Regions from separate parts of the Homo sapiens genome. Here region 1 is linked to region 2. The links are contacts of gene promoters, found by promoter capture Hi-C in human tissues and cell types (Jung and others, 2019). All regions are on one chromosome and are shown on one strand. The core of a region is centred on a gene start or on the middle of the fragment in contact, and the rest is flanking DNA. Distances in the headings are between cores, read along the strand shown.

Region 1 (5,515 bases), core at 1,067-3,566, 110 kb before region 2:
TTCTTTTTCTGATACAATGAAATATGTTATAAACATAAGAAAGTTTTAATGAAAAATACATTTGGCTGAGCGCGGTGGCTCACGCCTATAGTCCCAGCACTTTGGGAGGCCAAGGCAGGTAGATCACAAGGTCAGGAGTTCGAGACCAGCCTGGCCAACATGGTGAAACCCCGTCTCTACTAAAGATACAAAAAATTAGCCAGGCATGGTGGCACGCCCCTGTAGTCCCAGCTACTCAGGAAGCTGAGGCAGGAGAATCACTTGAACCCAGGAGGAGGAGGTTGCAGTGAGCGGAGATCATGCCATTGCACTCCAGCCTGGGCGACAGAGTGAGACTTCATCTCAAAAAAAAAAAAATGCATTTAAATTATGAGTATTTGTGTAAAATCAGAGTTTGAAGGCTAGAAATATTAAAGATAGTTAATTCTTGCATATGGAAATAAAATAGATTATACATTAATCGGTATACATTTTGTGTTTTGATGATTCTTAGCTTTCTTCTTTGTGTTTTCATAATAATATTACCTACTTAAGGCAGACAGTTGAAGATATGCAAGCTAAAGTCGACCAGCAAAGAGTTGAAGATGAAGCTTGGTACCAGAAACAGGAGCTGCTTCGTAAAGCTGAAGAAACAAGAAGAGAAATGCTCTTACAAGAGGAGGAGAAAATGATACAACAAAGACAGAGGTATGTGTTATCACTTTAAAAAAAAATCTGGACATATAAGTTAGTTGAATAATTTTTATGTTCTTTCATTTTTTCATTTTAGAAACAACATTATATATAGGATTACCCAGCTGTAGCATTTCTATAAAGCAACTATTAAGTTAATAAAAAGAATCTTTATATACCACTTTTCAAAAAAAATTGCTATGTAGTAAAATGTAATTCTGAAGCTATGCTGAATATAATATAGCTTTGCATGGATTAATGTTCCTTGAAGGACATTATTTAGAAACATTATTCTATAGTGGGCAGAAATGCTTTGTAATAGAATGCTAGGTACATCACCTTTAGTAGAGTATAATTTTTTTAATTGTGTTTTAAACATACCTGTGTGACCTGACAGTTGTAACATAGAATGATTATGTCATTACCCATTTAACACTTTGGAGGACAGGGGAATGAGTATTAAATGCGTATTCAAAAGTACGTTAGCTGGGTGTGGTGCCACATACCTATAGTCCCAGCTACTAGGTAGGATCACTTGAGCCCAGGAGGTCAAGGCCAGCCTGGGCAACATAGTGAGACCCTGTCTCTTAAAAAATAAAAAGAAAAAACTTAAAAATAAATACATAAAAGTATGTTAATAAGGTAAAATGTGTAAATTAAGTAAAGTAATGGGATAAACATTGAGACTAAGCCCAATAGTTGGGAAACTCACTTCTGTGTTTATTGATTCCTATTCTTAGATGGAACTTTATGTAACAGATTTATAGTGTGGGTTAAAAGGAATTACTGAACTGAGCCAGTGAGCTTTCTACTAAAATTCTTAAAGCATAAGTATACATCATCTTTGGTAACGGTGGAGCAGTTCTCGCATTCTTCTTTCAAATAAAGGATATCAATTGTATTGAAATGATCAGCATGGCAGACCTGTTATGAAAAAACTAAATCATATTAGGAATTGCTGTATTTGTTCCACTTGATGTATTTTGTATTTAAGGCTAGCTGCTGTGAAAAGAGAGCTGAAAGTAAAGGAAATGCACTTACAAGATGCTGCAAGAAGGCGTTTTCTGAAGCTTCAGCAAGATCAACAGGAAATGGAACTAAGAAGACTGGATGATGAAATTGGGAGAAAGGTTTATTATTCTTAACTTAGTTCTCATACATCATCTCCATTTACTCTCACTTAAATGTAATGAACACCTTCAAATTAAATAATATTCTTAGAGTCCACCATGAATACTAAATAGCCGCTTTAATTTTATTTACTTTTCCCCTCAGCTTTCTCATTCTCTTTTGTATTTCATGAATGGCTAAATATTTAAGAAATGCCAGGAAAATTAGTCAAGTGTCCTTGGTGACTATTTCTCTAAAACTAGAAATATCAGTATCAGTTAGCCATTAAGTTATTTTTTCTTTTCTTTTCTTTTTTTTTTTTTTTTGAGACAGAGTCTTGCTCTGTTGCCCAGGCTGGAGTGCAGTGGCGTGACCTCAGCTCAGTGCAACCTCCGCCTCCCGGGTTCAAGTGATTCTCCTGCCTCAGCCTCCCAAGTAGCTGGGATTACAGGTGCACGCCACCACACCCAGCTAATTTTTGTATTTTTCTTAGAGACGGGATTTCATCATGTTGGCTAGGCTGATCTCAAACTCGTGACCTCAGGTGATCTGCCCACCTTGGCCTCCCAAAGTGCTGGGGTTACAGGCGTGAGCCACCAAGCCCGGCAGTTAATTTTTAATTAGGGGACATATTCTTTTTTCATATAAAAATTATCTGTGGCCAGTATAAAAATAATTTCCAGTACAAAACATACAGAATTAAAAATTGACCTTCTCCATTAGTTCTCATGTCATCCCCAGAGAAACACTATTAAAAAATGGTTAATTGGCTGGGTGCGGTGGCTCATGCCCGTAATCCCAGCACTTTGGGAGGCCGAGGCAGGCAGATCACCTGAGGTCAGGAGTTCGGAACCAGCCTGGCCAACATGGTGAAACCCTGTCTCTACTAAAAATACAAGAATTAGCTGGGCATGGTGGCAGGCGCTTGTAATCCCAGCTACGCAGGAGGCTGAGGCAGGAGAATTGCTTGACCCTGGGAGGTGGATGCTGCAGTGAGCCGAGATCATGCCACTGCACTCCAGCCTGAGCGACAGAGTGAGACTCAGTCTCAAAAAAAAAAAAAAAAAAAAAAAGGTTAATTACATAGACTTTCAGGTATGTTCTATAGATAGAGGAGTAATTATAGTCATGTTTTCCTATATTTATACAAAAATGGGATTATTCTCATTATACATTGTTTTTGTAACCTGCTTTTTAAAATTTCATATGCTGAATATCTTTTCATATTTGTTATATGTGTATCTATTTCTCTTTTTGTGGTTGTATAATATTCCATTGAATTAATAGCTTATTTAATCCTTTGCTATTGGACATTTCGGTTATTTGCAGTGTTTTGCAAATTACAAAACCATGCTACATTGTAAAAGTCTTTGAGTACTTGCACACATACTTTTGTTGAGTAACTTCTAAATTATGACAAATTGTTCTCTAAAAATGAAACAGTTTCAGCTGTTTTAAGTCTGTAAGAGTACCCACTCCCTAGTATAGTCAATTGTACTGCATCAGTCTTAATATTTGCCAAGCAGATAGATGACAAATCGTCTATTTTAATTTGCCTTTTTTTATTGTTAGTGAGGTTAAGTATCTTTTCTGTTACTTATCTTCCATGTGTAGAATTACACATTACATATTTGTATCATTTGTCCATCTTTTTGTCAAGTTAGACTTAACTTTCTGTCAGGTTAGCTTACTTATTTCCAAAAGGCAAGTCAATTGTCCCAACACCATTTGTTGACTATTATCCAAGTCATTTGCCAACTGATGGTTTTTACATATTAAATTCTCTTACATATTTGATCTCCTTCCTCGCTTTTTCTATTCCTAAGCCAGTACCACACTGTTTGAATGACAGTAGCTTTGAAGTGTTTTACCAACTAGGCCTAGTTCTCACTCATTAGTCTTCCTTTTCAGAGTTTTCCTCAGTATTCTCAAATGTTTATCATTCCAAGTAGACTCTAAGAATTGTTTCACTTTTGGAATTCTCACCTCTCCCAATCCTATTGGAATTTTTATTAGGATTACACTGACTTTATGCACTAATTTAGAGTTTCAAGCCTAGTTTTGATAAAATACTAAGTATTTTTTAAGTCTTTTTTTTTTTTTTTTTTTTTTTTTTTTGAGACAGGGTCTCATTCTGTCACCTGGGCTGGAGTACAGTGGTGCGATCCCGGCTCACTGCAACCTCCACCTCCCGGATTCAAGCAATTCTCATGCCTCAGCCTCCTGAGCAGATGGGATTACAGGTGCCTGCCACAACACCCATCTAATTTTTGTATTTTTAGTAGAGACAGGGTTTCACCATGTTGGTCAGGCTGATCTTCAACTCCTGACTTCAAGTGGTCTGCCCACCTTGGCCTCCCAAAGTGCTGGGATTACAGGCACCTGGCCTAAGTCTTTCAAAGTATTTTTAATTCAATAGTATTAGAAATCTATCATCTCTTTATAGCATGATACTTCTTGTTTTGTTTAAAGCTTGTTAATTTTAAATTGGTTTTCAAAATCCAAGATTTCTTTTAATTTTCTCATCTAGTGAATGACATTGATATTTCATTACTGTAGAAAAGTGTATGTTCTTCCCGCAAAGTAAGCTCAGAACTCTGATGTCTTTATTCCAAACCCCTTTGAAACAGGAGGAGGCATTTTTTGGTCCAAGAATTCTATAGACTCCTTTCAGCAACATGATCTGGCCTCCGCCTACCCTTGCAGCCTCCTGTCCTCCCAGCTACCTGTTCTGATGTTGTGCTCTGACCCTGCCAAACTGCAAAAGCTCTTCTCATGGTTCAGACTCTAGCAGGAAAGGCTGCTTGAATCTGAAGTGACAAGTACATGTGACTGTGAACATCTGTTAGCAGCAAGCAAAGCTGATCGGTTTTTGCTGTGGCACATAGCTGTTTGTATCTCTGAAAATTCATAAGCAAAAGAGCTCTGTAATTGAAATTCCTAAAAAGCGTGATTTGCTAGGCCACACCTCTCCTCCACTTCCTGGCATTATTACTGTTCTTGCTTCACACAATCAAGCTTCCCCCAACCTTTGAGCTAGCTCCTTTCCCAATAACCTCTTTAAATTGAACTGGTCCTGGTCCATGTTTCTCTTTTAGTCTTTGGATATATATGTTTGCACATCCAACTGTATTCTCATTTAGTGTTTCTCCTATTTTAGGTATTCGATAGCATGTCTTTTACCATAATGACAATATCTAACATTTCACTTTATATCTAAGATCATTTCTAAGAGTCTCTAGAGAGTTCCATATCCCATATCCAAAGCCTCTAGTATATAGGAATAAAAAGCCTCCAACTAATCAAATTTTGGAAATAGGTGAACTCTAAATTAATTCACTTGGAGCAGAACACATACAGGTTGAACCATCTGCAAGAAATTTAAACCTAGAATTGTTAATTGTCAAACCATACTTATAAAAGTAGAGAAGTTTAGTCAAAAAGAGCATTAAATAAATGTTATATTTTTATCTACCCCAGATTTAAATTGCTCAAGTTTTTCTAACTCATGATATTGGTTACTGTAATACTGTAAGAACTGCTATCTGTTCTTCCAGTCTGAGTAGATGGGCATATGGTATTGTGCTTTTTATTTTTAAATTAAACTTAACTTTAACTGAGAGATTATTCCTAGGTTCTGCAGTGAATATTAATCTTTGTCTGTTACTCTGGTTTCAAAAACCCAGTTGCTGTTATTTTAAATACTGTTAGTAGGTCGTTCAGATTACAGGAT
Region 2 (5,667 bases), core at 198-2,697:
TGGGGTGACCCGAGATCGCGCCACTGCACTCCAGCATGGGCAACAAACTCCACCTCAAAAAAAAAAAAAAGAAAAGAAAAAAATCACTTCATTTTAGAATTTATATTAAATTCTATGCACCTGTACAGCACATCAGATCTGACAAAGTATTTTCATATACATTATCTCATTTCACTCCCACGATAACTCTGTGAGCCAGCATGTATTATTTTTCTGAAGGGACAAATAAGGAGCTGACACCTTCAAGGCAAGTGGTTAAAGCCAACACTGGAATTCAAGAGTCCTATCTCATAACCAGAGTTTTTTTAATGTTCTGCCACATGATTTCCAAGCCCAATCCCTGTTTTGAGTCTACATGATCCAGGGCTGAAGGTAACTTTGAAAGATCGTATGTGATAAGGAGAAAATGCAACTGAAATAACCAAAAACACAATTCAGTAATTATCGAGTGCCTGGCATCTTGTCAGTACAATTGTGAGGAACGAATGAGACAGTATATGCGAAGGAACCCACCACAGTGCCCGGAACACTTCCGTATTTTCCATAAATATTAGTTTTGACTGATGAACTATTTACACTCATGAAAGAATAGGAAGTAATACTCTACTAATTCAAAAATATTCGCGGAGTCACTATTATTAATAAAAACTGTTAGGCACTGCCAAGGGCATCAAGAACCCATGCTGGTGCGATCATTTAGCACTCCGGGTCTCAGGACTTTGTGGGAATACTGACAAGTGCTTTAAGTAGAAGCTAAATAGAGGGAAGGGGGCCAAAGACAAAAATATTTGGCTGGAAGACGAAATCAGAAAAGACTTCCTAGAGGAGATGACATTTAAGATGTGCCTTGAAAAACGGATATAACTGAAGGACTTTAACCATCAGCGCGGGGTTGGTACGGGCAGGGGGAGCTCGCCGAAGAGGGAGGGGAGAGTGGGTTTGCCGGAGGTCACCGTTTTGGGAGGCCTGACTGCCCAGCTGTAAGAGCAGTGAAGACAAACGGGAGGTACCGGAGATTGCAGGGCAGGGGCGTTGAGACCAGCCGGCAGCAGCCAGGCCGGCCAAATGCCAAGTGGGAGTCAAGCCGCTTACAACGCGGGGATTCTCGCCCATGGACCCGGAATGGGGCCTGGGAAAGCCGCTTCCCCGTGGAGGAGGAGGGACGGCGGGGGACGCGGCGGGCGCTGGAGCCTGCCAGGGTTTGCGTTCGCGCGGACGGAGGGGCCGAGGCCGGGGCCGGGGCCCCGCGGAGGGCGAGGCCTGGGGCCCGGGATAAGGCGAAGAGGCCCCAGCTTCTCACCTGCGGCTCGCAGAGCTTGGCGCAGTAGGACGCGGGCGGTCCTGACCGCCGCTCCGGCCTCTCCTCGAACACCGAGTCCTCGAACTCGCCGCCGAACAACCAGCACCCGGAATCCATCTCGCGCCCGCGGCGGGGGCAACGAGGAAGCGGGGCCCGCCGGAAAAGGCGGGGCTTCCACGGCCCAGAGCGCGGCACGCTGGGACTTGTAGTCTTTGAGGGCGACGCGGGGACGTGGCCGCTGCTGGTTGGGAGTAGTGGTTGAGCTGAGATGATTATCTGACCCACTAACTGACCGAACCCCAGGACGGAGGTTTTGACTTCTCTGTGTCAGGAGATGGACAGAATGATCCTTACCTGCACGCATCAAAAAGCACGCTGGCCCCAGAGTAGCTGTTTAAAACTCGCAGGTACCTTTTTAAAAATTAAAATAAGAGGCCGGGCGCGGTGGCTCAAGCCTGTAATCCCAGCACTTTGGGAGGCCAAGGTGGGCGGATCACTTGAGGTCGGGAGTTCGAGACCAGCCTGACCAACATTGAGTAACCAGGTCTGTACTGAAAATACAAAAATTAGCCGGCCGTAGTGGCGCGCGCCTGTAATCCCAGCTACTCGGTAGGCTGAGGCAGGAGAATCGCTTGAACCCGGGAGGCGGAGGTTGCGGTGAGCCAAGATCGCATCATTGCACTCCAGCCTAGGCAACAAGAGTGAAACTTCGTCTCAAAATAAAAAATAAAATAAAATAAAATAAATAAAATAATTTCGAGACAGGGTCTCGCTCTGTCGCCCAGGTTGGAGTGCAGTGGTGAGATCATGGCTCACTGCAGCCTCGAACTCCCAGACTCAACCTATCATCCCGCCTCAGTCCCCCAAGTAGCTGGGGCTACAGGCGCGCGCCACCATGACCGTCTAACTTGTGTATTTTTTGTGGAGACTGGGTTTCCCTACGTTGCCCAGGCTGGTCTCGAACCTGATCTCAAGCGATCCGCCCACCTCGTTCTCCCAAAGTGCTGGGATTATAGGCGTGAGCCACTAAGCCCGGTGCAAGTACCAATTGTCAACCACTGTGCATTCCCGTCACTGTGTTAAGCACATTTTTTCTTTTCGGCTAACAACCACCTTATGAAAGCCAAAGTGATTCCCATTTTGCAAATCCTATTTTGAAGATATTGGAGTTTGGAGAGGTTAAGTAACTTGTTAAGTTTCGGTCATTATGTGGCTGAAACTTGGGAAATACAGAAATGAATGCGTACTCTCCGTGCTTCCGGACAAGAGACACTACCACCAATAACAAAGACCGGAGTCATTCACGCATTTATGAAAGAAAAGACACAGAAATATACCGTGGGAGGCTAGATCAGGGAGCATTCATTCGACCTGGAGAACACCAAATCTCAAAATTCTAAGACTAACATTTACTACAATTCTTATACTTTTAAGATATTTCTTGACTCTAGAAAGTAAAGATTGTTGACAAAATGCTGGCCAATACTGTACAGCACAATATTGTGCCATATTACACAGTAGGAAATAAACATAAAGGTTTTCCCCGATTTTTTTCCTGTTCCTCTTCACTCTCACCAGTTTCTCTTCCACCATTTATCTGTCTTCCAGGTTTCTTTTTTAAAATTTTATCTGTTTATTTATTTCTGAGACAGGGTCTCGCTCTGTCGCCCAGGCTGGGGTGCAGAGGCGCAATTTCGGCTCACTGCGTCCTCAACCTCCTTGGCTCAAGCCATCCTCCCACCTCAGCCTCCCGCGGGCCACCACACACTGCTACTTTTTTGTATTTTCAGTAGAGAGGGGTTCTTTCATGTTGACCAGGTTCAGCGTTCTTTCTTCAACCCAACTTTTTCCTCCACAAACTCACCTAATCCACTCCCCCAGGTTTCAGAATCCATCTCTCTGCTAATTATTGCCAAAATCTAGAACCAGCTCATTTATCCAGCAGCCTCAGGTGGGAGGCTCCAGCTGAACAGCCTCCAGGCATTAGTTACTGATGAATGAATTCATCAAGATCCACTTAAGAACATTTTTCTGGCCGGGAGTGGTGGCTCACGCCTGTAATCCCAGCACTTTGGGAGGCCAAGGCTGGTGGATCACCTGAGGTCGGGAGTTCGAGACCAGCCTGGCCAACATGGAGAAACCCCATCTCTACTAAAAATACAAAATTAGCAGTGTGTGGTGGTGCATGCCTGTAATCCCAGCTACTTGGGAGGCTGAGGCAGGAGAATCCCGTGAACTTGGGGGGCGGAGGTTGCGGGAGCTGAGATCACACCATTGCACTCCAGCCTGGGCAACAAGAGCGAAACTCCGCCTCAAAAAAAAAAAAATTTTTTTTTCTGCTGAAACGGTCAGGAAGTGTTAGGGTGCTTATGGATAAAAGGTAGTTATTTGCCCTTTAGACTCAGGATTCCTGGGCTCGGGTGTTTCCAGCCTTTTTACCACTAATGACCCTTTCAGTTTCTCCCTGAAAGTTGTGGAGGATTTCTATATAAAATAAAACTGCATTTATTAGCTAATAATTATTTTTCCTTTAAAAAATAGAATCCAGATCCTATATAACAGCCAATCCAAACTTCTACCCAGCCTGAGTCTACTGGCATGGCCTCATTGTACATTAGAATTCCACTTGAAAGCAAAGCACCAGCTCTTAGGGCCCTGGGAAGCCTGAAGAAAGGTAAAATATGATTAGCATCGGACCTCTGGCAATAATGAAAACACTTCAAAGACTCCTATCACTACTGAGGACCAGGGGTCTGGGACCCCAAGTTACACACCACTGCCTCATTTGATAGAGAGGCGCTAGGGTAATGTCATTTTTCAAAAGTAAACCAATAAAATAGAAGGGTATTATATGCTCTGTGACTGTTAAATCCACCTTATACACTAAGGAAATGCCAAGTGTTAGGCAGTGTTAGGAAACTGGAATTCTGCAAGTATCCAAAATTGTGTGGTTGTGATTAAAACCTGTTTCTGTAGAATTTTATCTATAAAAATCTGATTTTTGATTGAGGTGACTGATTGAGTTCCCCATCACAAGGTAACCAGCACCTCCTCCAGGCAGCCCTCCTTCTTTCCTGTAATTCTTCCATGCTTCTATCCATCCACGGTGGCATTTAGCACTCTGTGGACTGTTGGAGGTTAGAGGTGGTGTCTTTTTCACTCTTGTCAACTCAGCCCCCAGTCAGGGATTGGCCCAGACCACCGCAATAAATGTGTTTTTTTGATTTATGGAGATCCAAATCCTGTTGAATGGATGGGTGAATGGGTAAATGAAAGAAAGGAGCCGGGCAAGGTGGCTCACGCCTGTAATCCCAGCACTTTGGGAGGCTGAGGCGGGCGGATCACCTGAGATAGGGAGTTCAAGACCAGTGTGACCAACATGGAGAAACCCCATCTCTACTAAAAATACAAAATTAGCCAGGCGTGGTGGCACATGCCTGTGATCCCAGCTTCTCAGGAGGCTTAGGCAGGAGAATCGCTTGAACCCAGGAGGCAGAGGTTGCGGTGAGCTGAGATCACACCACTGCACTCCAGCCTAGGAAACAAGAGCGAAACTACATCTCAAAAAAAAAAAAAAGAGAGAGAGAGAGAGAGGACCAGGAAATGGCAAAAGGAACAGAGGAGCACTTCTCAGTTCTAAGTCAGTTGTTCATGTCCTATCTGCAAGTAGGGGAGGGAAAGAACCAACACTTATTGAGCATCTATAATGAGGTCATGCTATGGGCACCCTATTGTTTTTATTTATTCTCATAATCTCTCTGAGTTTAGATACTATTATTCCCATTTTTATAGATGAGGAAATATTAATAGGATCTGAGAGGTAACTTGTCTAAAGTCCCAGGCAGTGAGCAGATCAGTTCAAAGTTAACTTTATTTGACATGTTGTTAAATATCCCCCAAAAACAAAATGGCAGAGCTTCATGGAGACTTGGAGAACTGTCTGTCACTGGCTGGTTCTGCCTGCCCCATATTCTAGCACCTTAGGTACTCTCATTTATTCTGTTTGTCTAGGCAGAATGGCTTTCTCTGCCTTGTCTGTACACATCCCAAACACGGCCTCTCTAGCCTGAGCTTACCACAGAGCTACAGTAATTAAAACAGTGTGGTACTGGCATAAGGATAGAAATATCGACCAATGGAACAGAACTAAGAGTCCAGAAATAAACCTTCACACATTTATAGCCAATTGGTTTTTGACAAGCGTTCCAAGTCCATTCAATGGGGGAAAGAATAATTGCTTCAACAGATGATGCTAGGACAATTGGATTACCACATGCAAAAGAATGAAGTTGGACCCCTGCCTCGCACCATATTAAGAAATTAACTCAGAATGGATTAATAACCTAAATATAAGAGCTAAAAATCAT

The links. The method cuts DNA at HindIII sites, captures the fragments that hold promoters and counts their contacts. A contact is called where the count stands out against the background at its distance.
Region 1: a fragment that was not itself captured here is called in contact with the fragment with the promoter of C8orf76 in region 2 in 3 of the 25 tissues and cell types used here (H1 embryonic stem cells, dorsolateral prefrontal cortex and mesenchymal stem cells).

Annotation. Positions count from the first base shown.
Region 1 is chr8:123,128,532-123,134,046 of GRCh38, forward strand. It overlaps TBC1D31 (TBC1 domain family member 31), which reads left to right. Exons shown (of 22, transcript NM_145647.4): 15 at 535-687; 16 at 1,667-1,802. Among named protein-coding and RNA genes, the nearest start is that of TRM-CAT1-1, 26 kb to the right of the region's middle. The HindIII fragment of the contact is 4,422 bases long and covers 106-4,527 here.
Region 2 is chr8:123,239,930-123,245,596 of GRCh38, forward strand. C8orf76 (chromosome 8 open reading frame 76) reads right to left here and starts at 1,448. Exons shown (of 6, transcript NM_032847.3): 1 at 1,301-1,448. The coding sequence starts at 1,417. All of the region lies in intron 2 of ZHX1-C8orf76 (ZHX1-C8orf76 readthrough), which reads right to left. RefSeq lists an enhancer at 1,234-1,734 and a silencer at 1,235-1,354. The HindIII fragment of the contact is 18,562 bases long and covers 1-5,667 here.